4 separate regions of the Homo sapiens genome follow, and regions 2, 3 and 4 are each linked to region 1. Evidence: promoter capture Hi-C in 16 types of primary human blood cells and fetal thymus (Javierre and others, 2016). All regions are on one chromosome and are shown on one strand. Each heading gives the region's core, a stretch centred on a gene start or on the middle of the fragment in contact. The rest is flanking DNA. Distances are from core to core; before and after follow the strand shown.

What was found. The method cuts DNA at HindIII sites, captures the fragments that hold promoters and counts their contacts. A CHiCAGO score of 5 or more calls a contact.
Region 2: a contact is called between a fragment that was not itself captured here and the fragment with the promoter of C11orf71 in region 1, in 1 of 17 cell types (fetal thymus). The highest score is 7.2, in fetal thymus.
Region 3: a contact is called between a fragment that was not itself captured here and the fragment with the promoter of C11orf71 in region 1, in 4 of 17 cell types (activated CD4 T cells, non-activated CD4 T cells, total CD8 T cells and 1 more). The highest score is 9.2, in activated CD4 T cells.
Region 4: a contact is called between a fragment that was not itself captured here and the fragment with the promoter of C11orf71 in region 1, in 1 of 17 cell types (activated CD4 T cells). The highest score is 6.2, in activated CD4 T cells.

The regions. Positions count from the first base shown.
Region 1 is chr11:114,398,823-114,405,271 of GRCh38, reverse strand. C11orf71 (chromosome 11 open reading frame 71) reads left to right here and starts at 4,761. Exons shown (of 1, transcript NM_001271562.2): 1 at 4,761-6,449. The coding sequence starts at 4,941. The coding sequence ends at 5,312. It overlaps RBM7 (RNA binding motif protein 7), which reads right to left and starts at 4,606. Exons shown (of 5, transcript NM_001286045.2): 1 at 4,505-4,606; 2 at 3,412-3,574; 3 at 2,357-2,444. The coding sequence starts at 4,600. RefSeq lists enhancers at 4,434-4,976, 4,874-5,263, 4,977-5,519. The HindIII fragment of the contact is 8,162 bases long and covers 1,038-6,449 here.
Region 2 is chr11:112,074,126-112,080,574 of GRCh38, reverse strand. It overlaps NKAPD1 (NKAP domain containing 1), which reads right to left and starts at 6,276. Exons shown (of 6, transcript NM_018195.4): 1 at 5,659-6,276; 2 at 4,932-5,008; 3 at 2,260-2,360; 4 at 17-166. The coding sequence starts at 5,000. RefSeq lists enhancers at 5,784-5,833, 5,894-6,013, 6,424-6,449. The HindIII fragment of the contact is 765 bases long and covers 4,817-5,581 here.
Region 3 is chr11:112,223,470-112,229,918 of GRCh38, reverse strand. PTS (6-pyruvoyltetrahydropterin synthase) reads right to left here and starts at 3,491. Exons shown (of 6, transcript NM_000317.3): 1 at 3,393-3,491; 2 at 1,246-1,325. The coding sequence starts at 3,475. RefSeq lists silencers at 2,559-2,853, 3,211-3,620. The HindIII fragment of the contact is 1,163 bases long and covers 849-2,011 here.
Region 4 is chr11:112,288,144-112,294,592 of GRCh38, reverse strand. LINC02762 (long intergenic non-protein coding RNA 2762) reads right to left here. Exons shown (of 4, transcript NR_126004.1): 2 at 664-866. Among named protein-coding and RNA genes, the nearest start is that of LINC02762, 21 kb to the right of the region's middle. RefSeq lists an enhancer at 3,669-4,417 and a silencer at 4,214-4,523. The HindIII fragment of the contact is 5,561 bases long and covers 724-6,284 here.

The DNA of each region.
Region 1 (6,449 bases), core at 3,512-6,011:
TATGGCTACTTTAGTGCTACAATGGCAGAGACAGAAACAGTATCTTCTGCAAAGTCTAAAATATTAACTATATGGTCCTTTCTAGAAATAATTTGTCAGTCCCTGAGCTAATGCAAAGACCTAGATTGAAAACTAAAATGAAAAGAATTTGATCGACTGGATATGTGGAATGAGGGAAGAAACAAAGGATCAAATCTAGACTTGGCTTGAGCAATTAGGTAGATATTTCCCGAGACAAAAAAGAGAAAGAGGTTTTGGGAGGTAAGGAATTAAGAGTTCTGTAACATACATAGGATATTACTTTTGAGGATTTATACCTTATTCCCTATTTATTAAAGGGATAACTTGCTCTACAGAAAAGCTCACTTTAAAAATGTTTTAAATTATTTTTAAATGTCTTTAGAATCAAATAGCCAATTGGCTGGTCTTACACTTTGGATCTTTTAATTTTGCGTTTTTTCAAATCAGGTTATATTATCTGTATGCTGAGGGGGGCAGTACAATTTAGTTTATAGTATAAAAATTATAAACTCTCTAGCCTTTGATTAAAACCAAAGTATTTACTTGTACTTTTTTTTTTTCAAAGAAATTCTTTAAATAGAGAGAGTGCCTTGTTATGTTGCCTAGGCTAGTCCCAAACTCAAGGCCTCAAGTGGTCCTCCCACCACAGCCTTCCAAGTAGCTGGGACTATACGAATGGGTCACTGCACCTGGTTTTTTCTCCCCAAGAAATTCTAAGAGGGAAAACTTTTTATTTTCCTCTACCTAGGATGCCTTTGAAGACTCCATTAAAGGGGCTGGAAGTGCTTTAAATGCCAACTTTACCAAGAAATGTTTAAACACTGTTAATTAATTTCAGCTGGCAAGAAAGAACACCGGGAGGGTACACTTTTTGCACTATTGCTGGCTCACTATTCCACTTTCTAGTATCTCTTCATATCCATCCACTTCTCTCCAGCTCATGGCACCACCTTAATCTAAACTATCAACCTCATCCATCAATAGCTTCCAACATCAATGCCTTGCTACCAAAAGCTTCCTCACTGCTCTATTTTCACTCTTGCCCCCTCCAATCCATTCTCCCACTGCAACCAAACAACTCTTAAAATATAAACTTGTTCCTATCAGTACCCTACCTAAAACATTTCACTGCCTTCCTACTCCATTTTAGGGTAAAATCTCAAAATCCTGATTATAGTTTAAAAGACCCTCTCCAGCCTATCTACCAAAATCCCCTACTGCTCTCCATTTTCATTCATTATGATCTAGGTACACTGGCTTCTTTCAGTTCCACATTCATCTATATCATCTCCTTCTCTTAAAATTTTCTCAAAGCCCTTTGTACTCTTTCTTTAGAGAACTTATTACAGTAATTGAACAGGTATTCACAAAAATATATATAATATGTGTCTTCATTTAGACTTTAAGCTCCTCTAGATAATACATCATAGTGGCTGGGCTCAATCACACTACACTGCCTGGGTTTGAATCCCAGCCCACTGAACCTGAGCAAGTTAACCTCCATTTTTCATTTCCCTTCATATAAGAGGTAGAGATAAAAATAATCCCTACCCTCATAAAACTGCTGTGAGGAATAAATGAAATCATATATGTAAAAGATATGGTGAAGAACCTGACATATGGCAGGTATTTATTAAATCTTTCTTAAATGACTGTTAAATAGCTTTATGGATATACCGGGAAAAATTGTCCCTGGTAAAATATGAACCTCCCCAAAGCAAATAAAATCATTTAAGTAAATATGATATTTTCTAATACTCAGTACCTGAAGAGATTTTACAAATCATTTAATTCAACTTATTTTCCTTACACATGGGAAGACGGGACTAAAGAAAGGAGACTAGCTCAAGATTACACAATTGATAGATGCAGACCTAGAATCCAATTCTAGGAATTCTTAGTCCAATAGACTGTTGACTAACTGGTATTTTTCAACTGTAAGTAACAACCAATTAATGACTGTAAAATAAATTTTAAAATGTTTTAAATGAAATAGTAATCCAAGTAGTGAGGGTAAATAATGTTTTGAGAAATTTTGTTTCAAGTGTATACATGTACTGTACACATATGTGGGTATGGTTATGTCGCTACAAATCAACAAATAGTTATATACGTATCTATTCTAAGGGGACTATATACAATGTGTTTGTCTATAGAATAGACACATTCTATACCCCTTAGAATAGATACATAACAACAACCCCAAAAGGCAAGTAATAACGGCAGAATGAAGAGATAAGAGAATAATGAAGGAGACTATTTACTCATGTGTTTTGAGGCTATTCCCTATAAGAATTCCTGATAAATGATCTTAACAATAAGTGAGAAATATTACCTGCTAGGAGATGTGGAGGTAGGGCTTGAATTTCCAACATGATGTTGGGGATATGACAAACTGACATCTTGTGGGGCATGACTACTTCCTAAAATGAAACAATTTGAAAAATTATTCTTGATAGAAAATCTAATTTGAAATTTTGTCTTCCCCACTTGAAATCACTCCAAAAAGGTAAACACAATCTAAAAGAGAAAAATCTCAAACTACTGGCCGGGCGCGGTGGCTGACGCCTGTAATCCCAGCACTTTGGGAGGCTGACGTGGGCACATCTCTCGAGGCCAGGAGTTCGAGACCAGCCTGACCAACATGGTGAAACCCCACCTCTACTAAAAATACAAAGAATTAGCCAGGCGTGGTGGCGTGCACCTGTAATCCCAGCTACTCAGGAGGCTAAGGCAGGAGAATCACTTGAACCTGGGAGGCAGAGGTTGCAGTGAGCTGAAATTGCACCACTGCACTCCAGCCTAGGCAACAGGGCAAGACTCCATCTCAAAAAAAAAAAAAAAAAAAAAAAAAAAAAAAAAAAAAAAGAATCTCAAGCTGCTGTAGACCGCTTTACGGCTTCATCGGGGTGAAAATTATAAGTGTATAATATCAGATAAGCAAAACAAAGCACTCCATAAATATCCAATCTGACCATAATTTTCTGATCTCCACCCTAAATTGTAACACTGGATACATGGACAGTTTCATCCTCACATGATCAAGAACCAAAATATATAAAAGTAATTACAAAGCAGCCAGGAGAAGTATTTTCAGAAAATAAACCTAGCTCTTTTCAGAGTACCCAAGCCCAGCTCTCTTAGTGATACAGTTTATGTTTTTTCACTAACCCAAAATGAAACTTTAAGCTCAGTTTTGAAATTCTAATTTCAAAATCCATGTGTCAATGTTACCCGTTTTCAGGGATATATAAAGTTTGCTATATAAAGTTTACTATTCACAATGCTTAAGAAAGAAGTTTCATCTACAAATAAGAGGTTCTTTAAAACTGAATAATAAATTTAAAAACAGCAGGAAACAATGCCCCCCGAACCTCATTGGGCAGTTACCTGATCTAAATTGAATTTTGATAGGCCTTCCATAAAGTTTGATTCCATTAAGTAGATTCATTGCATAAGGAACAGACACTTCATGTTTGAAATTCACAAACGCAAACTGCTTTGGTTTACCATCCTTATCTTTTGGAATTTTCACCTTTATTACTGGCCCAGCCTACAAACAAAAAGGTGTTTAGAATTTAAATAAAGCAACTAAGGGAAAATACTCAAATTTTACAAATAAGATATGACAAAGTTTAAAAACAACAGAAACGTAATCAGAAACTTCTTTTGAAAATGATGCACGGATTTCCATTTTGGCTACAGTAAACATCCTAGTTATGACTGAACATTAGATTTATTTGGGGAAGGGGGCCCATAAGGAACTGGAAACACAATCACTTTTGCAATTCACAGCACTGTATGGCTTAACATAGTGACCAATCGCCATTATTTTGCCACTCCATGAAAATGAACATTTATCAAGAACAAGAGAATGATTTTCTTTAACTAAAAACGGACTTTTGTATTGATTAATCAAACAATACCAGTTATTAGGGGATAGGGATGGGGGGAATAGGATACTCAGAATTTTTCACACTTTTTAATACAGCAACACTAAAATGCTGTTTTTCTACGGAGTACTTAACCATTTTATTTTACATATTTTAATAATGCTGCAATTTGATAAGCAAACTTTAGGGGAAAACAGACACAAATAAATTAAAATATTAAGTTCCCAGTCAGATAAACCAAAGACAAATTATCCTAAGGGGAAGATGACAACAGGAAGGATAAGAAAAAGCACTGCTCAACGAAGACCCTACACACACACTGTGTTCCCAAGGACCCCTGGATCTCTACCACGGGAAACCTGATCGAGGATCCCTCCACCACCTTTAGTCGTCACTTTCGGCCTAAACGAACCAAGATCTTCCAGGAAAGCGACACCCAGCGAGCGTTTCGCAACCCAGACCCGCCTTTCACCCCCAAACAGCCACCCGTCGGGTCCCCTGACGGCTACGAAAAGAAAACGGGGTGGCCGCTGGCCAGGCCCTAGGCGAGACGGAAAACGAAAGGCAAAGGGCCGAACCCAGCCGCTTACCTGGTGGAAAAGCTCGAAAAGGAGCTCCTCGGTCACTTTCGTTTCAAGGTTGCCCACAAAGAGAGTGCGATCCGCTTCCGCCGCCGCCGCCCCCATCTCAGCGTCGCCCCCTCCCTAACCTGGCCAAAAGGTCGTGGCCGACGCACCCACTGCGCATTCACGGAAGCCCCACGTCCTCACGCTCCCTGGCGTCACAAACGAAAACGCCCGTTGCGCTTGCTCTCAGCGGGCGACGACGTGCGCGGACGGTCTGCGCATGCTCGCCAGGATACCCCTCGTTAAAGGCAAGGCGGCTTCTGGCTCTTCCGCAGGCTCAGTTATGGGTTCCTGTGTGCTTAGTCATCGGGTCCGACACAGGCTGGACTGATCTGGGGAGCCGCGAAGGGCCTGCCTTCACAAAGGGACGTAACGCAAGTACTGCGGGCAGTGTTTGAATATGGCCCTGAACAATGTGTCCCTGTCCTCCGGTGATCAGAGGAGCAGGGTGGCCTACCGCTCTTCCCATGGCGACCTCAGACCGCGGGCGTCAGCGTTGGCGATGGTCTCCGGAGACGGCTTCCTCGTTTCCAGGCCTGAAGCGATTCATCTAGGACCTCGGCAGGCGGTGCGACCAAGCGTTCGGGCCGAGAGCCGTCGAGTGGATGGTGGCGGCCGGAGCCCAAGGGAACCAGATGGCCGGGGCCGGAGCCGCCAAGCCAGATTCTCACCTTACCCAATCCCTGCCGTTGAACCCGATCTCCTAAGAAGTGTGCTGCAACAGCGTTTGATTGCATTAGGAGGTGTTATCGCAGCTCGAATTTCAGTTTAAACGAACACCTTTCCTCTGGCCCTCACTTAGCTTGTGAACAGGCCTTTTTAAAATCCTTTCTTGGTGTAGCAGCAATCGTGTTGTTTTATTTTTAGATGGATGTATTTTCATTTAATACGTGGGAGTTATATGAATATGTCCTAGCACTAAGGGAAGTGTAACAGTTGATTGATTTAGGTGGTTTTATGCAGCCAGAACGATTGGATCAGGAAAGGTGTGGAAGGGATATTCTTAGGTCGTCACAAAGCTGAGCTGATGGGAGCACCCTCCCCAGAGGTCAACAATCCATTCGTTAACTCAGACACTTAACCTTTACCTTTACTTCTGTTGGCGAAAAAGAAGTGCTCCTTTTTATTACACTGATTTATCCTTCCATCTTTTCCTTGGCATTTACCATCTTCCATCTCCCCCTTCACTTTTTTCAGATATGTCTACAAACAGACTCCAATCTCAGTCGCACTAAAAATAAGAACAAAACCTAAACCTTACAGTTCTTTCAAATTATTAAATCAATTTATTATTCCTTTCTTTGGCAAAGGTTCCAAATTTTTACTTTATATTTGTAATTTTACTATTTGCATTCAGTCCCAGCGCATTAATCTGAATCTGCTGTCCTAAAATACACTGGTGAAAACATTACTTGTACAATCTCCTATCAGAAAACTGTTCATCTACTCACTGTAGTGCCCTCCTTGAAATGTGTGTTTGTTCATTCAACTAACAATATTTGGGGATCCCTGTAGTAAACACTGTATGAATTTTACACAGTCTGGCCATCAAGAAAGATCACGGAGTATATTCTAGATGGGGAGGCTACTAAGTGAATAGGAATCACCACGCTGGGCTGTTTATTAGGTACAGTAATAAACATAAGTACTGGTTGCAGTGACTTTTTTTTTTTTTTTTTCATCATAATACTGCACTATCCTGGTTCTTCTCTTACCTGGCTGATCACTCCTTATTTGCTGTTATTTTTGTTCTCTTAACCATACATTTCCCAATGTTTAAAGGGTGGTATTTTGAGAAAGTTAATGGGTTTTGTAAGTGCCAGCTCTTTATATAAGCAGGTAGACTAGCTTTTTCCCAGCAGACGCTTGTCTGTTTAGACTTCCTTAAAATAATTATCTTCAAATAAAG
Region 2 (6,449 bases), core at 3,950-6,449, 2.3 Mb after region 1:
GGAATTAATCACAAACCTGTCTGGCATGTTTGCTTCATAATCATAGAACTTTTTATTCCAGGATTTAGCCTTAAGAAAATCATCTTCCAGTGTCCCAGAAATTTCATTCTTTGGCCTCCAATAGTATCTTTGACTTTCTTCATCAAAACCATCACTGCGCATCCGGCTAAAAGAGAAAGCAGAAGAACTTTTAGATGTAAAAGCAATCTGTGAGTTTACTTTATGGAACATCATGCACAAAACTCATGGAACAAGCTGAGGGGGAAGGAAACAACATGATACTGTTTAAAAAAAAAAAAAAAAAAGGCAAAGACATTATCTGCTCCTCTCTATACATTTGTGAAGTCCAGTGGAAGAAATCTGACCAGGCCTAGTGCAGTAGCTCATGCCTGTAATCCCAGCACTTTGATTATCTGTTCCTCTGTACATTTGTAAAGTCCAGTGGAAAAAAATCTGACCAGGCCAGGTGCAGTGGCTCATGCCTGTAATCCCAGCACTTTGGGAGGCCGGGGCGAGTGGATCACTTGGGGTCAGGAGTTCAAGACCAGCCTGGGGGACATGGTGAAACCCTGTCTCTGCTAAAAATACAAAAAAAGTAGTTAGGTGTGGTGGCACACGCCTATAGTCCCAGCTACTTGGAAGGCTGAGGCAGGAAAATTGCCTGAACCCGGGGAGGCAGAGGTTGCAGTGAGCCCAGATCATGCCATTGTACTCCAGCCTGGGCAACAGAGTGAGACTCCGTCTCAGGAAAAAAAAAAAAGAAAAAAAGAAAAAAATCTGACCATTAGTACCCATCCTATTGCAAAGCATAGAGAGATGAAATCAACTCTGGACTATGTCATGTGATAGTTCACTCGCTGATTCTCAACTAGGAGGGCATGCAAAGAGGGAAGCAGAACATAATCATAGCAAGGGACACTTCAAACTACCCTAGAGATTCTGAAATACACTTCCCTCTGTGCAAACCAGCAACTTACTATAGAGAGGTCCCAATAACAGTGGGAACAAGGTCTAACCCATGGGAATACTGGAGTAGGAAAAAAGTTGAGAACCACTGATCCAGCTTCTGTTTACCATTTCTACTAACTAGCCAGTAAGCTGCTAATCGGTTATCAAAAATTTTTAAGGGGCCAGGTCCAGTGGCTCACGCCTGTAATCCCAGCACTTTGGGAGGCCGAGGTGGGTGGATCACTTTGAGCTCAGGAGTTCAAGACCAGCCTGGCCAACATGGTGAAACCCTGTCTCTACTAAAAATACAAAAATTAGCCAGGCGTGGTGGCAGGTGCCTGTAATCCCAGCTGATTGGGAGGCTGAGGCAGAAGAATTGGCTGAATCCAGGAGGCGGAGGTTGCAGTGAGCCAAGACCACACCATTGCACTCCAGCCTGGGTAACAAAAGCGAAACTCCATCTCAAAAAAAAAAAAAAAAAAAAATTGTAAGGGCCTCCTATGTACCAGGTACTGGTCTAGCTGGCAGGAATATAGCAGCAAATGAGAAAATCACAAGCCCTGCTCCTAAAGAGTTTAAGTATTTCTTATATATGTAGCTCTTACACTTACAAGCGTGTAAGGATCTTCCCAATTATTCAAGCATTCCTAGGCCTCTCCACAAGGAAGATAACTAAGCCTGCATAATCCTTCATATTTACACTCAAGCTATTAAGGTAATGTGAAAAGGCTGTTGATCTGGTGAAGAGGGTGAATAGACAGGGTGAAGAAAAGTCTGAGGCCAGGCAAGTGGCTCATGCTTATAATCCCAACACTGGGAGGTTGAGGTGGGAGGACTGCGTGAGCCCAGGATTCTATACCAGCCTGGGGAACACAGCAAGACACCACCTCTACAAAAAAAAAGTAGCTAGGCATAGTGGCATGCACCTGCAGTTCCAGCTACAAAAAGAAAAGCCTGAAAGAATGAAAGATTAATAGAGAATAGAATGACTGATCAGCTTAGTGACCACAAGATTCCAGTATAAAATCTTCAGTTAAAAGCTATCAGGTAAGGTTAGAATCCACAGAACCCTACACATTCATAATTGTTCAGGTAGAATTTTTTAACTCTCCATTGTAAATAAGTACAAAGAGCAGGGCCATATGCGTCACAGCCATTATCTTTATGCCTGGGTCTAGATTTACGAAAGAAGGAAGGCTTAAGGACTCACAGAACTGAATTTATCCTTAATATACCAAAGTATTTTTAAACAAAAGTTGATGATTCTGAAAAAGATGAGAATTATTTTAGTTCTCAGAGCTGCAACTTCACCTTGAACTGCTGGGTAGCATTTTCCTTTTGGTCCCCCGGTAAGCATCTTCCATCTGTTTTTCCAGTTCTCTTATTTTCCACATATCTGATTCCTCCTGAATCTAGAATTTTTAAAAAGGAAATAAAAATAAGTTACTAAAAATAACTTTACATTACAGAAAAGTAACTAACTGGCCGGGCACAGTGGCTCACACCTGTAATCCCAGCACTTTGGGAGGCCAAAGCAGGCAGATCATGAGGTCAAGAGTTTGACACCAGCCTGACCAACATGGTGAAACCCCGTCTCTAATAAAAATACAAAAATTAGCCGGGCGTGGTAGCATGCACCTGTAATCCCAGCTACTCAGGAGGCTGAGGCAGGAGAATCGCTTGAACCCTGGAGGCAGAGGTTGCAGTGAGCCGAGATTGCACCACTGCACTCCAGCCTGGGCGATGGAGTGAGACTCTGTATCAACAAAAAAAGAAAAAAAAAAAAAAGCAACTAACTGAAAATACAATCTGACTAATTATTGGGCTACAGACTGGGCTATGATCAGGAACCTGGAAAACAAATTGGTTTCTCTAGAAAGTGGCTGAACAGTCCAATCCAGTAAATCTCAAATATGTGGAAATCTTCCCCAATAGAATTTTTAAACCGCTGCACAGACAAACATCACCTTATCAATCTTGCAATTATGCTGCGATTAGCAAATGATAATGCCACATTTCCAAAATGCAATATGATTTTAATTATATCATCTCAATTGAACCTTAAGCAATCTCATGAGGAAAATATAGCAGCTACCATTATTACATTTTACTGTAAAGAAACAAAAGCTCAGAGATTTTAACAAAGTCAAAAAACTAGTAAGGACAGGTCTTTAAACTCCCTAAGCTAAATCTCTTCTGGTAATATTATAATTTTTGTCAAAAATAAAATAAAATAAAATAATCAGTATGGCTGCTAGGGAATTTCTTGAAAAGCAGAATGTGATTACCCAAAGAACACATTTTATTTCTAAGTCTTCCTGCATAATTTCATTAGATCTGTGCTAGATTTATCTTTTTCTAGCTACCATTTTAAATCTAAGCTTACTATATAACTAGGGGCAGGTTAACATAATTGCATAGGCAGCTCGGGTAACAGTTTTACCCTCGCCCATAATTTTAAAAATCAGGTGATATGATAATAATAATATGATCAAACCAAAAGTAGTACAGTTTACTGAAGAAAACTAAACCAGGGGCCTTGGCCCTCTTTTCATTATATGTGCTCTCCTAGGTGACCTCATCTACTCTCATGACCTCTTATCATCAACCTATACATCAATAATCCCGAAACCTTTATGTCCAGCCCCAACTTTTCTCCTCTACTCCAAGTCTGAATTTTCAACTGCTTGGACATCCTATAAGCACCTCACCATCAACATGTTGAAAACCAAACTAATTACCTTTCCTATCATAATTGTCCCATTTTTTGTTCTTTATCTCAATTAACAGAATTGTCATCATCTACCCAGTCACATAGGTGGTTACACAGTTGACCTTGAACAACAGGAATCTCAACTGTGCAGGTCCACTTATCCTCAGATTTTCTTCCACCTCTGCCACCTGTAAGATAGCAAAACAAGTCCCTCTTCTTCCTCCTCAGCCTACTCAATGTGATTTTCTTAATGAAATGTTGTTTTCTCTAGCTACTTTACTATAAGAATACAGTATATAATACATGTAACATAAAAAATATGTGTTAATCCACTGTTTATGGTATCGCTATGGCTTTCAGTCAGTAGTAGGCTATTGGCACTTACATTTTGAGGGAGTAAAAAGTTATACATGGATTTTCGACTATGCAGGGGGTTGATGCCCCTAGCCCCTGCATTGTTCAAGGGTCAACTGAATTAGATTCCATTCTTATCATTATAATCTAATTAGCCACCAACTTCTTTGGATTCTATCTCCTAAATTCCTCTTCTTCATCCCTGCTGTCACTAATTTCATGCGAACCCTCATCATCTCTCACCTGTAATACTGCAATTGCCTCCTAATTACTCTCCCTTCTGTATCTCCCCATCTGATTCATTCCCTACCCAGCTGACAAACCATCTTTCTAAAATATAACTATGATCATGCCACACCCTGTTTAAAAACATTTGATGGCTTCTTTATTGCCTAGAGGAAGAAGTCTCAGCTCCAAACATCACAATCCAACTCTAATTACCACTGAGGCCTTATCTTCTGCCACTATCCCCTACCTTCCCTGCTTTCTGGATAAATTTCTTGCCATGCCCCAAGTGATTAATGCTCTTTCTCGTTGCCATATTAATGCATGATGCTGTCTATCCAGAATGATATTTCATACCTGGTAAACGTATACCTATTCAAGAACCAGTTCAAAGATCAGCAGCTGAAATACCACTAATTCTGTAAAATCTTTTCTAATTCCCCAGTGTAGATTTTATTATTTCCTCCTTAGTGCTCCAAAGCACTTTGCAAATATCTCTGTTATACAGTACTTATCAAACTGTATTATAATTATCTATTTTATTCATCATTTTATTTCCTACTGTGTACGGAAGCTTCCAAAAACTAGATGACAAGAATATTCTTTGTATCTCCCAGTTGTTCCAAAATAATGCTTGGCACACTGCTTGCCTTCAGTAAGCGTTGAGGAGTAACTAGGTTGTACCTCCCACCTTATTGTGAGCATCTGTGTGCCGGATGACATTCCTCAGGAGGACCTTCCCCAGTGGAATCCGGGACATTCTTCAATCTGAAATGAATCAACAAATAACGTTTAGTAATAATTTCTGTTATTACTTTATCTTTTCTTGAAGTTTTATAAAGAAGCATATGAGGTACAGGAAAGATCACTGAACTAGAAGTCAGAGATTCTAAAGAATAGTTTTCCCTTTACCATTAAAAGAGGGAAATGCCTAAACACACTAATGTGAGATGAAAGGAGATAATGTACATTAAAGTTCTTTGAAAATGCACAAGACTACATAAAATTAAGTGCTTTCATGAGCACCATTTTATTTAATCCTCATAACTACTTTTTATATGAGGCAAGTATCTCCATCCCTATTTTGTAGATGAAGTTCCCTTAAAGCTGTAACGTCCCAAGCCACATAGTCCCAGGCAAATGATGTATGTCACTGTCTAAATTAAAAATCAAACCTCCAATCCCAATATAGTTTGCACTGAAGCAAATACGTAGATTTGAGAGTGTCAGGAACCACGGGTGTCAACAGTAACAGAAACTGATTACTCAAAACATCAAATGCAAAGATGTCCTAAATTTCTCCATTTGGGGGCATTTTATTTCCTACTTGCTACGGAAGCTTCCAAAAACTAGATGACAAGAATATTTTCGTGTGTAGCTAGCAGGAGCTTTGTGCAACCACCCCAACGCTCACTCACCCCTTGATCCTGAGGAAATCAGGCATCTTGCTAGTGAGACGAAGAACCACTCCATTACAAGATCTCCTCCGACCCAGGAAGCCAAGGAGTCAGGGCTCAAAGGCAGCTCTGCAGCTTCACCCGAGTCCTTCGTGAAAACGCAGCCTTCCCACTGGTTACTCTGCCCTCACCTGTGGCCCAGGCCACTGCCGCGTTTCCCCCAGCCCAGACCGACAGGCAGATCTCTCTCCCGGACTGAGGCCGGAGGCTGAGCCGGGGCGGAATTCGGACAGCCCGGTTGACCTGGGCATTCCCCGCTCACGCTCCTCTAGGACGAACCCCGGGGGTAAGTTTCACTCCCCAGAAAGGCTGGGAACGCTTTGGATGGCTACGGCCTTCGGTTGGGCCCCAGAAAGTATCTAGGGAGCCTGAAGCGGGGGTTGAGGTTTCCAAGTGGAAGACAGAGGAAATATCCCCATCTTTGTCACCGGGATCCCTGTTCCCCAGCGGCCTCGGAGCTCCCGGTAACCTTCCCTCCAAACGCCCTCCCCACACAAATACACACAAACACACCCATACCGTGCGCCGCAGCCTCGCGTGGCGGGGGGTAGGGGGGAAGAAGTGGTTTGGGAGAAAAAGGAGGAGACTTCCTTTTCAGGCCGGAAGTCGTGCTCCTGAGAAATCGTCCCACCAACAGGCAGCCCAGAGACTCCCACAAGGGAGGGTTTTCAGGACACTCCAGAGGTTGACGGGTGCAGAAGGAAGGCGGGCGCTTTCCTGGAAGAGAAGTGGGTCAGGCCCAACTGAAAAGC
Region 3 (6,449 bases), core at 181-2,680, 2.2 Mb after region 1:
ACTAGGGAGCATCAAGATGCTGCTCAGTCTCTGCCTGTAGAAGTAGAAAATGTCTTTCAGGTGTCCAGCTACACAGCAAGCTGGTCCAATACTGAGCAGTACCTTTCTGAACAAGCAATACTACTGGGCCTTAAATTCTTGTCCCCTTACTCACATGAATGTATACAAAGTCTAAAGTAATGCTTTGTAAATTAAAAAGTGCTTGTGAGAAGCATTTGAAAAATCTTGGCCAGGCGTGGTGGCTCAAGCCTGTAATCCCAGCACTTCGGGAGGCCGAGGCGGGCAGATCACCTGAGGTCTGGAGTTTGAGAGCAGCCTGGCCAACATGGTGAAACCCCATCTCTACTAAAAATACAAAAATTAGCCAGGCATAGTGGCGGGCGCCTGTAATCTCAGCTACTCGGGAGGCTGAGGCTGGAGAATCGCTCGAACCTGGGAGGTGGAGGTTGTAGTGACGGGAGATCACACCATTCCAGCCTGGGCAAAAAGAGTGGAACTCCATCTCAAAAAAAAAAACAACAACAACAAAAAAAAACTTTATCAGTGCTTTACACATTAATAACTTTTATGAATTTATGTATTTTAGTTCTGTACAAATACCATTAGATATTACATGTAAGTGAGTACACTGAGACTGAGATACCATAGATTAAGGAAGAGGCTGTAGCTAAACCAGTAATCCTAATCTCCTGACACCTTGTCTGTTTTTTTTTATGCCACCACACCACATACTGTTTTATACTCTACGACTTATGTACCTGTTTTTTAAGGCAGGCTGTACCTCAAAGAATCAAGTCTCTTATCCTTGAACAAATTACCTACTTTCTTCGAACACTGCTGGCAAAGCTTTAGACCAAACCTATTTTTCTGCCATACATTACATTCCTAGGCAACATTCCCCTTTTGTCAGTCATTATTTACTCAAAGAATAAAATCTAATTTTAACATTAGCCTTGGCCATACCTAATCAGAAAGAAACTTGTTGTGTACTCTAGGACAAAGAAAAATGCTTTAAACCATTCATTGTTTTGGACTGTTTGTAAGAGTTGACATTGCAAGGTAAAACTTAACACACACCCAACCAAGACAACAGATCCTTTCATTCTGAACTCCCATTTAATTTCTCATTCAAGGCTCAAAGCATTCACACTGTGTCCGTAAGTTTTCCCATTCTTTATGTCTACATTTGCTGAATACTCTTTCATCCTTATTGAAGGGCTGAAATGTCATCAGTTTTTCTCTCACCTTTATAATTGTGCCCATGGCCATTTGGATTGTTGCATTTCCCAAACAGTTTCAAGTTTTCTTCATCACTTAGAAATTTACTGACCAAAAAAAAAAAAAAAAGTCAGCATGACACAAGTATCACATTCAAACCCCCTTCTCTGTTCCTTATATTTATTATTTGTACTGATCTTTGAAAAGTTTCCCAATTTATTACTTTAGCTCACCAAAGGGAGAGTCAGAAATCATGTTGATTTTATTACTTACGTATACGTCACAAACCATGGCATATTCCCTAATTAGAAGATTGTACCATACAAATTAGCACAAACAAACCTTAACTTCAACCCCCTTGTTCCACAGCAACTGATCTGCTCATGGGCCTTCCACTTTTCAATTCAACATTACTGAGTGCCTACAATGTAACAGGCAAGTGCTGAATGAAATAACAGCATATAATGATAAACATAGATGGTGATCCGCAAAGTGGCTTACTATCTCATTTCTCTCAGAAGCTAAACTACTCATCCAGAAAAAATAATTTAAAAAAATTACATGACCTGGTAAGTCTCCTATTTAGCAATCTTGCTTTATACTATGTCTCAACTACTGCCTCATGAGAACTTTACCAATCTGTTGAGGAATATTCCAAGCAGGTGAATTTTTAAAATTACAATCTTTGGCTGTCGTCTCAGACAGAAAACAAATTGCTTAATGTTTATACTTATACCCATCCATTCAATTTCGCATCGTCTATGAGACCTTACCACCCTCAGGTGTTTAAGCTTATTATACAACCCCTTTTTTTTGAGATCCTCTTTATTATTCCCCCCAATGTAGTTTGGATGTTTGTCCCCTCCAATTGTCATGTTGAAATGTGATCCCCAGTGTTGGAGATGGGGCCTAGTGGGAGATGTTTGGCTCATGGAAGTGGATCCCTTATGAATGGCTTGGTGCCCTCCCTGAAGCAATGAGTGAGTTCTCGCTCTATTAGTCAATGGGCGAGCTGGTTGTTAAAAAAAGCCTGGCACCTCCTCTCCTCTCTCTTGCTCCCTCACTTGCCCTGTGAGTTGCCTGCTTGCTCGCCCTTCGCCTTCCACCATGAGTGGAAGGTCCCTGAGGCCTCAACAGAAGCAGATGCTGGTGCCATGCTTCTTGTACAGCCTGCAGAACCAAATAAACCTCTTTTCTTTATAAAATACCAGTCTCAGTATTCCTTTGTGGCAATGCAAAATGGAATAACACACCCCCACTTTCTCCTGCTCAGCCACTTCTTGTATTTAGAGTGCTAAAGTCTTTTGCACAAAATTTTCTCAGTGTACCCTCCACAAAATAGGCCAGATTGGAAACCCCATACAAGATCCCTGATGCATCCGTTACCTAGCACAAGCCCTGACAAGCACGAAACAAAACCTGGTTTAGCGAATGGAGGGATGAATCCTGTTAGATAGCGATGGTCATCCTCATTTCACAGACGACGATACGGAGGGCCAGAGGGTGGAGCTGGTTAGTGCGTGGTAAAATTCCTCAAAATCAACTCGTCAGTGCATGCAAGCAGTATGTATGATCGGGATTCAAATCCCAACTATGCTGCTTCGGAAACTGAACGTCTGGGCTCATTTTTTTTTTTTTTTCTCCTAGCCACTAGACCACCAGGGACTGGGTTCATCCAGTCTTTGGTAAAAAAGGGGCTAAAATTTGCCTTGTAATTACATTAGATATGGTGGCCAATGCTCCTGGCATACAAGATTAGCTAACATTTACTGAGTGTCTACGCCGCGCCAGGTACTGTGTAACATAGGCGAGTTTAACACTGCTGAGTTTCACAGCAACCCTGTGGTCTACACCAAGGGACTCCTAGGGGCAGAGACGTTTCTTCGAGTCGCAGAACCGGGTGTGGGCCCCGCACCCAGACGTGGGCCATCGCCCTCCGCAGTCGGCTCCGTTAACCATCAAGCTCCCCCACCCCTCCAGGGCTGGGGACACTCCAGCCCCCATCAGGATGCTGGAGGCCGTCCGAAGCCCCACGAAGCCGACCAGCGCGCGTCGCCCCAGCAGCCCCCGCGCCCCTCCCGGGCCCGACGTCAGCACGCCCGCCGGCCCCGCCCCGGTGACGTTCCGGGGCCCGGCGCCCACCGCCCGCCGCTGTACCTGTGTGCACACCCTACCTGTACAATCGGTGGCTCGCGCTGAAGGAGATGCGGCGGGACACTTGTGCCTGGCAGCGACGGCCACCACCTTCCGTGCTCATCTTCCCGGCGCTGTCTGCGGTGCTCGGCCGGCACCTCCTCCCGCCGCGCGGCCGGTGCCTCCTCCCACCGCGGCTGCGCAGTGCGTGCCAGACGCGCCCCTAGGAAGTGCGTCTCCGCTTCCGCTCTGGCCAATCCCGGCCTCGGGAGACAGTTAAGGGTGTCTCTCGCTATCTGAATCTCTTCGGAGAGCAAGATTTGGGATACCTAAGCATACCCTGGAGTGGTCAGGGTGGGTGGGGACCCTGTGTCCTTGATCTGTTTGCCCCGCCTGAGGTCACGCCACGTAGTTAGGGCCCGTCTGGGCACACTTTGGGTCCTGAGTGACCTCTCTGAGCCTCCTCTCCCACTCTCTCCTGTAAAGCTCCAGTGACTGGTGACTCAATCGGATGAACCCCAGGGCCACAGTCCGCTTTATAGACCAAAAGGAGCAGGAATTGAGCCAGGCGGGCGTGGTGACGCACTCCTGTAGCCCCAGCTATTGAGAAGGAGAGGGATCACTTCAGCCCAGGAGTCCAACCTGGGCAATAGAGCAAGACCCTCGTTTCTCTTTTTCTTTTTTCTTTTTAATTATTATTATACTTTAAGTTCTAGGGTACATGTGCACAACGTGCAGGTTTGTTACATAGGTATTCATGTGTTATGTTGGTTTGCTGCACCCATCAACTCGTCATTTACATTAGGTATTTCTCCTAATGCTATCCCTCCCCCAGCCCCCTACTCCCTGACAGGCACCGGTGTGTGATGTTCCCCACCCTGTGTCCATGTGTTCTCATTGTTTGATTCCCACCTATGGGTGAGAACATGCAGTGTTTGGTTTTCTGTCCTTGTGATAGTTTGCTGAGAATGATGGTTTCCAGCTTCATCCATGTCCCTGCAAAGGACATGAATTCATCGTTTTTATGGCTGCATAATATTCCATGGTGTACATGTGCCACATTTTCTTAATCCAGTCTATCATTAATGGACATTTGGGTTGGTTCCAAGTCTTTGCAATTGTGAATAGTGCCACAATAAACATACAGGTGCATGTGTCTTTAAAGTAGCATGATTTATAATCCTTTGGGTATATACCCAGTAATGGGATGGCTGGGTCAAATGATATTTCTAGTTCTAGATCCTTGAGGAATCGTCACACTGTCTTCCACAATGGTTGAACTCATTTACACTCCCACCAACAGTGTAAAAGCATTCCTATTTCTCCACATCCTCTCCAACATCTGTTGTTTCCCAACTTTTTAATGATCGCCATTCTAACTGGTGTGAAATGGTATCTCATTGTGGTTTTGATTGGCATTTCTCTGATGGCCAGTGATGATGAGCATTTTTTCATGTGTCTGTTGGCTGCAGAAATGTCTTCTTTTGAGAAGTGTCTGTTCATATGCTTTGCCCACTTTTTGATGGGGTTGTTTGATTTTTTTTCTTATAAATTTGTTTAAGTTCTTTGTAGATTCTGGATATTAGCCCTTTGTCAGATGGGTAGATTGCAAAAATTTTCTCCCATTCTGTAGGTTGCCTGTTCACTCTGATGGTAGATTCTTTTGCCGTACAGAAGCTCTTTAGTTTAATTAGATCCCTTTTGTCTATTTTGGCTTTTGTTGCCATTGCTTTTGGTGTTGTAGTCATGAAGTCCTTGCCCATGCCTATGTCCTGAATGGCATTGCCTAGGCTTTCTTCTAGGGTTTTTATGGTTTTCGGTCTGATATTTAAGTCTTTAATCCATCTTGAGTTAATTTTTGTGTAAGGTGTAAGGAAGGGATCCAGTTTCAGCTTTCTACATATGGCTAGCCAGTTTTCCCAGCACCATTTATTTAATAGGGAATCCTTTCCCCATTTCTTGTTTTTATCAGGTTTGTCTAAGATCAGATGGTTGTAGATGTGTGGTGTTATTTCTGAGGCCTCTGTTGTGTTCCATTGGTGTATATATCTGTTTTGGTACCCATACCATGCTGTTTTTGTTACTGTAGGCTTGTAGTATAGTTCGAAGTCAGGTAGCGTGATGCCTCCAGCTTTGTTCTTTTTGCTTAGGATTAATACCGTTTCTTTAAAAAAAAATTTTTAAAGAGCAAGAATTTGAGAGCACAAATAGGACCACGTGACAACAGTCCTTTGGACTGTTGTGTAATGATCCTTACTAAGGGAAATTCTAAAGCCATTCTTATCCACAAGCATGTATGGACCCATTTATTACTCTGGGTTGGCATAGTGTGAATACAGACACCCCTAAACACATATTAGCAATTCTTCTGCCAGTGTAGACACATTGAGAGTGAAAGGATCTTGTTTCCTCACATCTACTCACAAGAGTAACCAAACTACACACAGTTCCCAGAATCATGTCACCTCTTGCTTCCATTCACTCTTTCACTAAATATTTATTGGGCATCTACTATGTGGCTGGCATTGTTCCAGGTACTGGAGAGGACAGCTCCACTCTATATGAGAAAAATCATCACTGTATATGATGAAAAGCAGGACAAGTCACTGATTAATAACAGGCTTGGAAAAGTTTCCTGTAAAAAGAAAGATAAAATCATGGGGGCGATAGAAATAAGCTCAAATGGTGATTTCCCTCAAATATCTCCTATTTACAGCTATATATTCTGTTTGTTCTGCATTAAACTACTAACAGGTTATTTAGCAAACACTCTCCATACATTTTCAGATGTTTGTCTCATCTACCCCATTGTACTGTAAAGAAAAAACTTCAAATAACATTTAGAGATTTTCGAGATAGAGACTGTTTAGTTCAATACTTTCACTTTACAGATAAGAAAATACAGCCACAGATAAGTGAATTACTATTGCGAGATCACTCAGAACAGAAACATTATTTCCCAGGTATGGACTGCCTCAGTGATAAATACTCTCTAACAGTCAGTGGTTACACAAATAGTTGCTCATTCCAAAACCAGCTTAAAGAATCAAAATAAAGTGAAAGAGTAAGAGAAATTTCTGCAAAATTATTTTTATTAA
Region 4 (6,449 bases), core at 2,255-4,754, 2.1 Mb after region 1:
CTATGAAATTGAAACTGAAAAACATATATATACACATACATATATATATACACACACACAAATACATATAGATATATAGATACAGAAAACAAGCTGAGTTAAACTGATATCAGGATAAGCTTCAAAGACTGGCATGTGAGATGACATTTTAGGTTCTTACAAAAGTGTGATGGGGGGCCGGCTCCCTTGTTTATGTTAGACCTAATTGTGATTCTTTTAAAATAAACAGTGAAGCAAAACTTTTAGGATATCAAGAGAAAGCAGTTAGCTAGAAGAGTGGAGTTTTAAAAAATATGTCATCTAAAACAATATTAAACAATATTCAGATATGATCCACTCAGACTTCAGCCCCTTACTACTTGTAAGTGTTCTTCCCTCTGCAAACGTCCGAGCAAATCAGACCAGCACACACCCACTGGAGAAGAATGGCATTCTAAAGCTGCTTCTTTTTTTTGGCAGAAATGATGGGACTGTTAAAATTCAGTAATGATTTTATTACCTCATTTGAGATCATTTCATTGTCCAAGTTATTCTCTTTTTTCAGTAGCAACAGCAAATTTGGTAAGAAAGCAAAATCCAGCAGTTCTCATACAAATATTGCAAGAATTTTGTTAAAATATTTTAGGGTACATAGTGATTTCAGAATATGTATTATTATAGTACCTTTAGCTGCTGTACAAATACGTCCAATGTTTGTATCTTGGCTGAAGTACAATAAAAGCTTATCTGTCACTTACAAAAGAGCTCAAGGCAAATGTTCCCGGTTGGCAAGAGCAGCTGTCCACCCTGAGCACCCAGGCTAACAAAGTTTCTGCCACCTTCACCATGAGGCCCCAAGGTTGTCACTGTCCTCTCATGGCACTCAGCTGGAAGAGGGGAAAGAGAACAGAGGACAACTCATTAAAGGCTCTTATGGGGAAGTCCTATATGTCACACACATCACCTCCATTCACATTCTACTAACTAGAATACAGTCTCAGGGTAAATATTAGGGGCTTCAGGCTTATGAAAGAGAATTTGGCCAATGGAGTCCAAGAAAAGATATAAAGGAAACTGGTTGTAACAAGAGAAAGATATTCCCAAGAAAATTAAATTATTAAACAATAATTAAAAGTCATATAGGAAGGAGTAAATGAGTGAAATGGACATGGCAGAAAACTAAGGAATATCTTAGATGGCAAACTGGAGGAACACTTTCAGAATGCCAAGAAAGAGCACCAAGAATTAAAACTATTTCCTTAATTCTAAGATGTCTGTGTTGCCACATCATCACTTCTGAAATCAGGCCAAGTCTTGCAATCACTGGCATCTTATAATCACCCTGGGCCAGGGAGCTGCCATGGTGAGGTCATCAAGACCTGGGCATGGGTGAACTTGGTCTCAGTTGTTCATGTTGTTAGCACTTTAATTGAGTTGTATACATTGTTGCAATTACATGTGAGTTTAATTGCCATTTAAAATGTCTTTTAAAAGATTACACTATGGTTTGGCATTGAAATGAGAAGTTATTATGTATGCAGAAAGGCATGGAATTCAAGCAGCAGGATGTAATTTGATATTACTGAAGCAAATGTCTATTATTGGACCAACCACTGCAATTCTTTTTTTTTTTTTAAACTAAGTGCTTGACAGGACCCAAGAAAAGAAGGTATCCTTAAGTAGAAACTGTGTTATGTTTTGTAACTGAGACTCATGCAAAAAGAATTGCCTGTCACATGCCAAACAATGCAACCAAAGGCAGGAGCAACTGCCAAGTCCCTCAAAATAGATGAAGTCTATCAAAATAAGAGAGAGAATGGTGTGAGCAACTTACCAATTTCACAGGACTGTAATCATGGCATTATGTCACAGTTTAATTGGCAGCATTTTTTCTTCCTTAGTTGTACATATAATAATAGTGCTTCTTACAACAAATACTAGCTTAGATTCAATAAAATACAGTACTTTAAAAAGAAGACGATAGCTATGGAAGACCAGGAATAGAGATTGAGCCTAAGAGTTATGTTTCTGAAGAAGAATCTAGAACAATCAAAAGAGAAACAATAATTGAAGATATAATTAAAGAAAACTTTCCAAAAAAGTACAGAAAGGGCAAACAGAGGAATGGACTCAGTTCACCAGGTTCCAGGTAAAAGTAACCAAGAAACACTCAAATCCAGAAATATCCTGACAAGTTTTTAAATTACAAGCAAATTTTTAAGTGTTTTCTTTGTACATTCAGAAACAAAAGAAAAAGGAAGGAAGGAAGGAAGGAAGGAAGGAAGGAAGGAAGGAAGGAAAGAAGGAAGGAAGGAAGGAGGGCAAGAAGGGGAAGGGGAAGAGAAGGGAGGGAGGGAGGGATGAAAATTGTGCTGACTTTTTTGTGTCTACTACAATGGAGCAGTAGCTGACAGAGTTTTTATATGGAAAACACTTAGATGAAAATTTTACTCACAAATAAGTTTTAGTTTTTGAGGACAGACAACCAAAAGAGTTCAGAATGTCTGCCACTCACATATTCTTTAAATCACTTTAAAATATATTTCAACTGCCCAAGTGATGACTTAAAATTACTCAAGAATGGAAAAAAACAGAGCGTCAAAGGACTAGCAGTGAGTGTTGAAGCCAATTACACACAGAGAGTTGGTCTAAAACAATTGTTTAACTATGGTTACAAGACAGAATATGTGTCAAAAATACCCAAGAACCAAGAGACATACAACATCAAAAAATAATGCATGAATAATCCGATCCCAAGTCCACAAACTAATAAACTTTCAAATAGGAAAGGAGAACAGAGGGAAATAAAAGTGTACAGAATTCATCCTACACAGTTGCGAGCTTAAAAATACCATTTTATTCTTGACTTTAACAACCAGAGAAATATTGATTGGTGCTCACATCCATTTTTAGAAACTCATTACGTAGGAGAGTAGGGGCCTGTCCTTTAAAAGATAAAAACCTCACTCCTGCCTCAAGGTATTTACAGTTTGAAGATCTCTAACCAACACACAGGATAGGTTTTAATTTGTTACAAGAATAAACAAATGTCAAAGTCCTTGAAGAATTTAAGGTTTTGTGCAGAACCAGTCCTCAGATGCTGTTTCAATCTTACTGCCCACCAGCATTTTCCATTCCTTCTGGTAAAGCCTCCTAAAACCTGGTATGAAAGGACAGCAGTTCCTGGTCACTGTGGTGCCCTCTGTACCTGACGGCAGGGTCTGCTTGATGTCAGCGTGCGTTGTCACAATCCATGAACCGGATTGTCCTTGTTTAACAGCATCACTGGTGTCACTGAGAATGAGACACACAAATTCGGATTGCAGGGAAGCTCTCACGGTAACCATTACACACACAGCACTGAGACCTGAAATCAGTACACAAATACCAGATATTTTCCCTCCAGAATTTAATTTAATGCTCACAATCACCATCCAAGTAGGCAGCATTTTTCCCATTTTACAGATGAGAAAACTGAAGTTTAGAAAGGGTGTTTTCCAGAATTACAGAGCCAGTCAACAGATGGCAGAGAGGGGTCTCCAAGCCAGGAATTTCTGGCTCAAAAGTTCACTGTACCTTACCACACCATTTTCTTAATTCAAAGAAAGAAGGTACAAGGAACAGAAATGGATATAATAATTTTATAATTTATTAGAGTACTAGTAAAGATGCTGCCTCTTTTACAAAATGATAATCCAATGAACTGAACTAATCACACTGTGCTAGTACCCCATTAACCCTCTCTAAAACATTCACAAAGTGGATACAGGGCTGCTCCAGGGCCAATGAGATTTCTCTCCAAAGTAAAATTCCCCTGGAGTGCTCTGGTCTCTAAGGCTTGATTAGCAAGTACCAATTAATGCGCCTTCAGTCCTCTTTGTGTCTTGAGCACTGAGGGCTAACCCTTCCCTCGCCGACAAAGATAAGATTAAATCATTCTCACCCTAAAGAGTTCAAGTTCTAATGCACTGCTCCCTCCCAGGGCCTTGAATAGAGAATAATCTTTAGGACAAAAGAATGCATCTCTAATAGTGAAATTTTAGACGTCAGCAAAGGAGGTATTTTTCAGTCACACATAAGACACACACATTTTCCATGTCACACCTTATTGAGACAGTGGTTCCTCATCTGGTGCCGAGGACCGTGGCTCACCTCGGTGTCACCCAACTTAACGTCTTGCCCCGCCACAAATCACGGGTACAGAATAACCAGGGCGTGCCATGCCCGGGAGACTGGTCCAACCCCGGCGCCCAGGCCTGCAATCCCTGGGAGGCGTGGGCTGCCGCTGCCAGCACCCCGAGTCTGTCGCTGCGTCCCCGCGGCTCCCCCTCTCCGGGATCCGCCCGACCAGCCCAGGCGCCCGCAAGAGGGACCACGCCCGCCCGGAGCCGCCCGCGTCCCCGCCCCCCGGCACGCACCGTGTCTGCCAGAGGGCCGCTGCTGCCACCTCCCGGCCGCGTCTCCCCGAACCGCGCTCAGCCGCCACGCCCCAGAAACCCTCCCGGAGGACGCTCGGGTCCGAGTCCACTGGGCCTGGGAGGTGGTGACTGTCCTGGCAGGGGCTTCCTACGGCAAGAATCATCTTCCTTTCGGGTCACTCACGCAGCGCACCCAGACTGGAGGTGGAGATGAGCGCTTCCAGCACCGACCTCCCCCAGGGTTCCAACGGACACGTGCTCCACGCCCCTTCCCAGTCTTGGGGATCCGAAAAAGCCACACAGCCTGGCCCCAGGCACAACGTATAACAACTAGGACCCCCAAATCTGGGCAGGCCGGCTCCACTTGGGCCATCCTGGCTGCCTGAAAGAATGCGAGTTGGAGCAGAGATCTTTGAACTCAGATTCAAATGTCAGACCCACTGAATTAGAATCCCCTGGGCAGAGGCCAGGGAACTATTTTTGCAAAGTTCCCCCAGGTGATCCTAATGGTCAGGCAGGTTGGGGACCCTCCCAGTTACAAAATCTAGACGACGTTTTCAGGTTATCCACAAATGCACAGAAACACACACCCCTGGGTCTATGAAAAGGCAACAATATGAAGTTGTGCGCTTGAAATGAGAAAGATTTCATGACAGCTCATCACCTAGCCCGGGAGTTTCTAACCTTGTCTGTTTATCATGCCCTTAATGTCTCAATGCTTTTTTTCACAGTAACCCTAGGCCTAAAGAAATACCTGACTGTTCTGTGTATTAAGTAGCTAGACCCAAGTAAGAAGTATTTCTGTCCTAACAACTAGTAGCCACTAGAAAAAATATTGCATATAAACTAGAAAAAAAAACTTATCTCATTCTTAGCCACAACTTCTCACTAACGGGATGTGTGTGCTTGTTGAGCACTGCGCAACTTCTCAGACCTTGGAATTGGATTAGACGCTGCCGCCCTCATTTCCTATTCTATATTGATTTTCCCATGGTACGTGTTTTATGTCACAGCAAATGACAAAAACTGAAAATGTAGCTTCAGAAAAATATGGTTTTATCAAAAAACATGTAGGGCAGGCTAGGCGTGGTGGCTCACACCTGTAATCCCAGCACTTTGAAAGGCCAAGGCAGGTGAATCACTTGAGGTCAGGAGTTCGAGACCAGCTCAACCAACATGGTAGTAGTAGAGAAACCCCATCTCTACTAAAAATACAAAAATTAGCTGGGCGTGGTGGCATGTGCCTGTATTCTCAGCTACTCAGGAGGCTGAGGCAGGAGAATCTCTTAAACCTGGGAGGCGGAGGTTGCAGTGAGCCAAGATCACACCACTGCACTCCAGCCTGGGCAACAGAGTGAGACACCATCTCAAGGAAAAAAAAAAAAAACTGTAGGGCAATCTAATATTGAGTCTTCAAGCTATCCTGCACTACTTAGTAGTTTGCATGGAGCCCAACAAAAGTTGAGTGTTGCCTTTGGCCTTTAAAATATCTCAAAGAGCCCCTCTGAATCCACAGCAGCTCCAAGAACACCTCAGCACAGAGTTTGGGAACATGCATGGAACTCACTCCTGCTCCTCTCCTCATCCCACACTCCCCAGGGTTCACAGTGCTCCTCCTGCAAGCATCTTCTTTCTTGCCAAATGCTTTCCCACCTCAGCACTTTGTGCCCTTGCTCTTCTCTCTGCCTGGAATGCTCTTCCTCAGGTCTCCGCAGGCCCAGCTCCTTCTTGGCCTCCAGGTCTTGGTTCAAAGACCACTGTGCTCCCTAAAGCCTCTTCAGGCCTCCCACCAAATCACTTCTATCCTATGGGCCTGTTTCCTTTTCTGTATAGCTTTTATCACTATCTGAAGTTATCCTGCTTAGTTTACTTACTTATTTTCAAGCTTCCCCACCAGAATGTGAACTTGATGAGAACAGAGACTTTTGTTCATTACTGTTTCCGCAGAACCCGCAACAATGGTTAGCAATAAGTAGACAATAAACAATTGTTCAATGAATGACTGCAGCCTCTACACTCAGCTCAGGGAGATAAAAGGTAAGAAGAATGTGC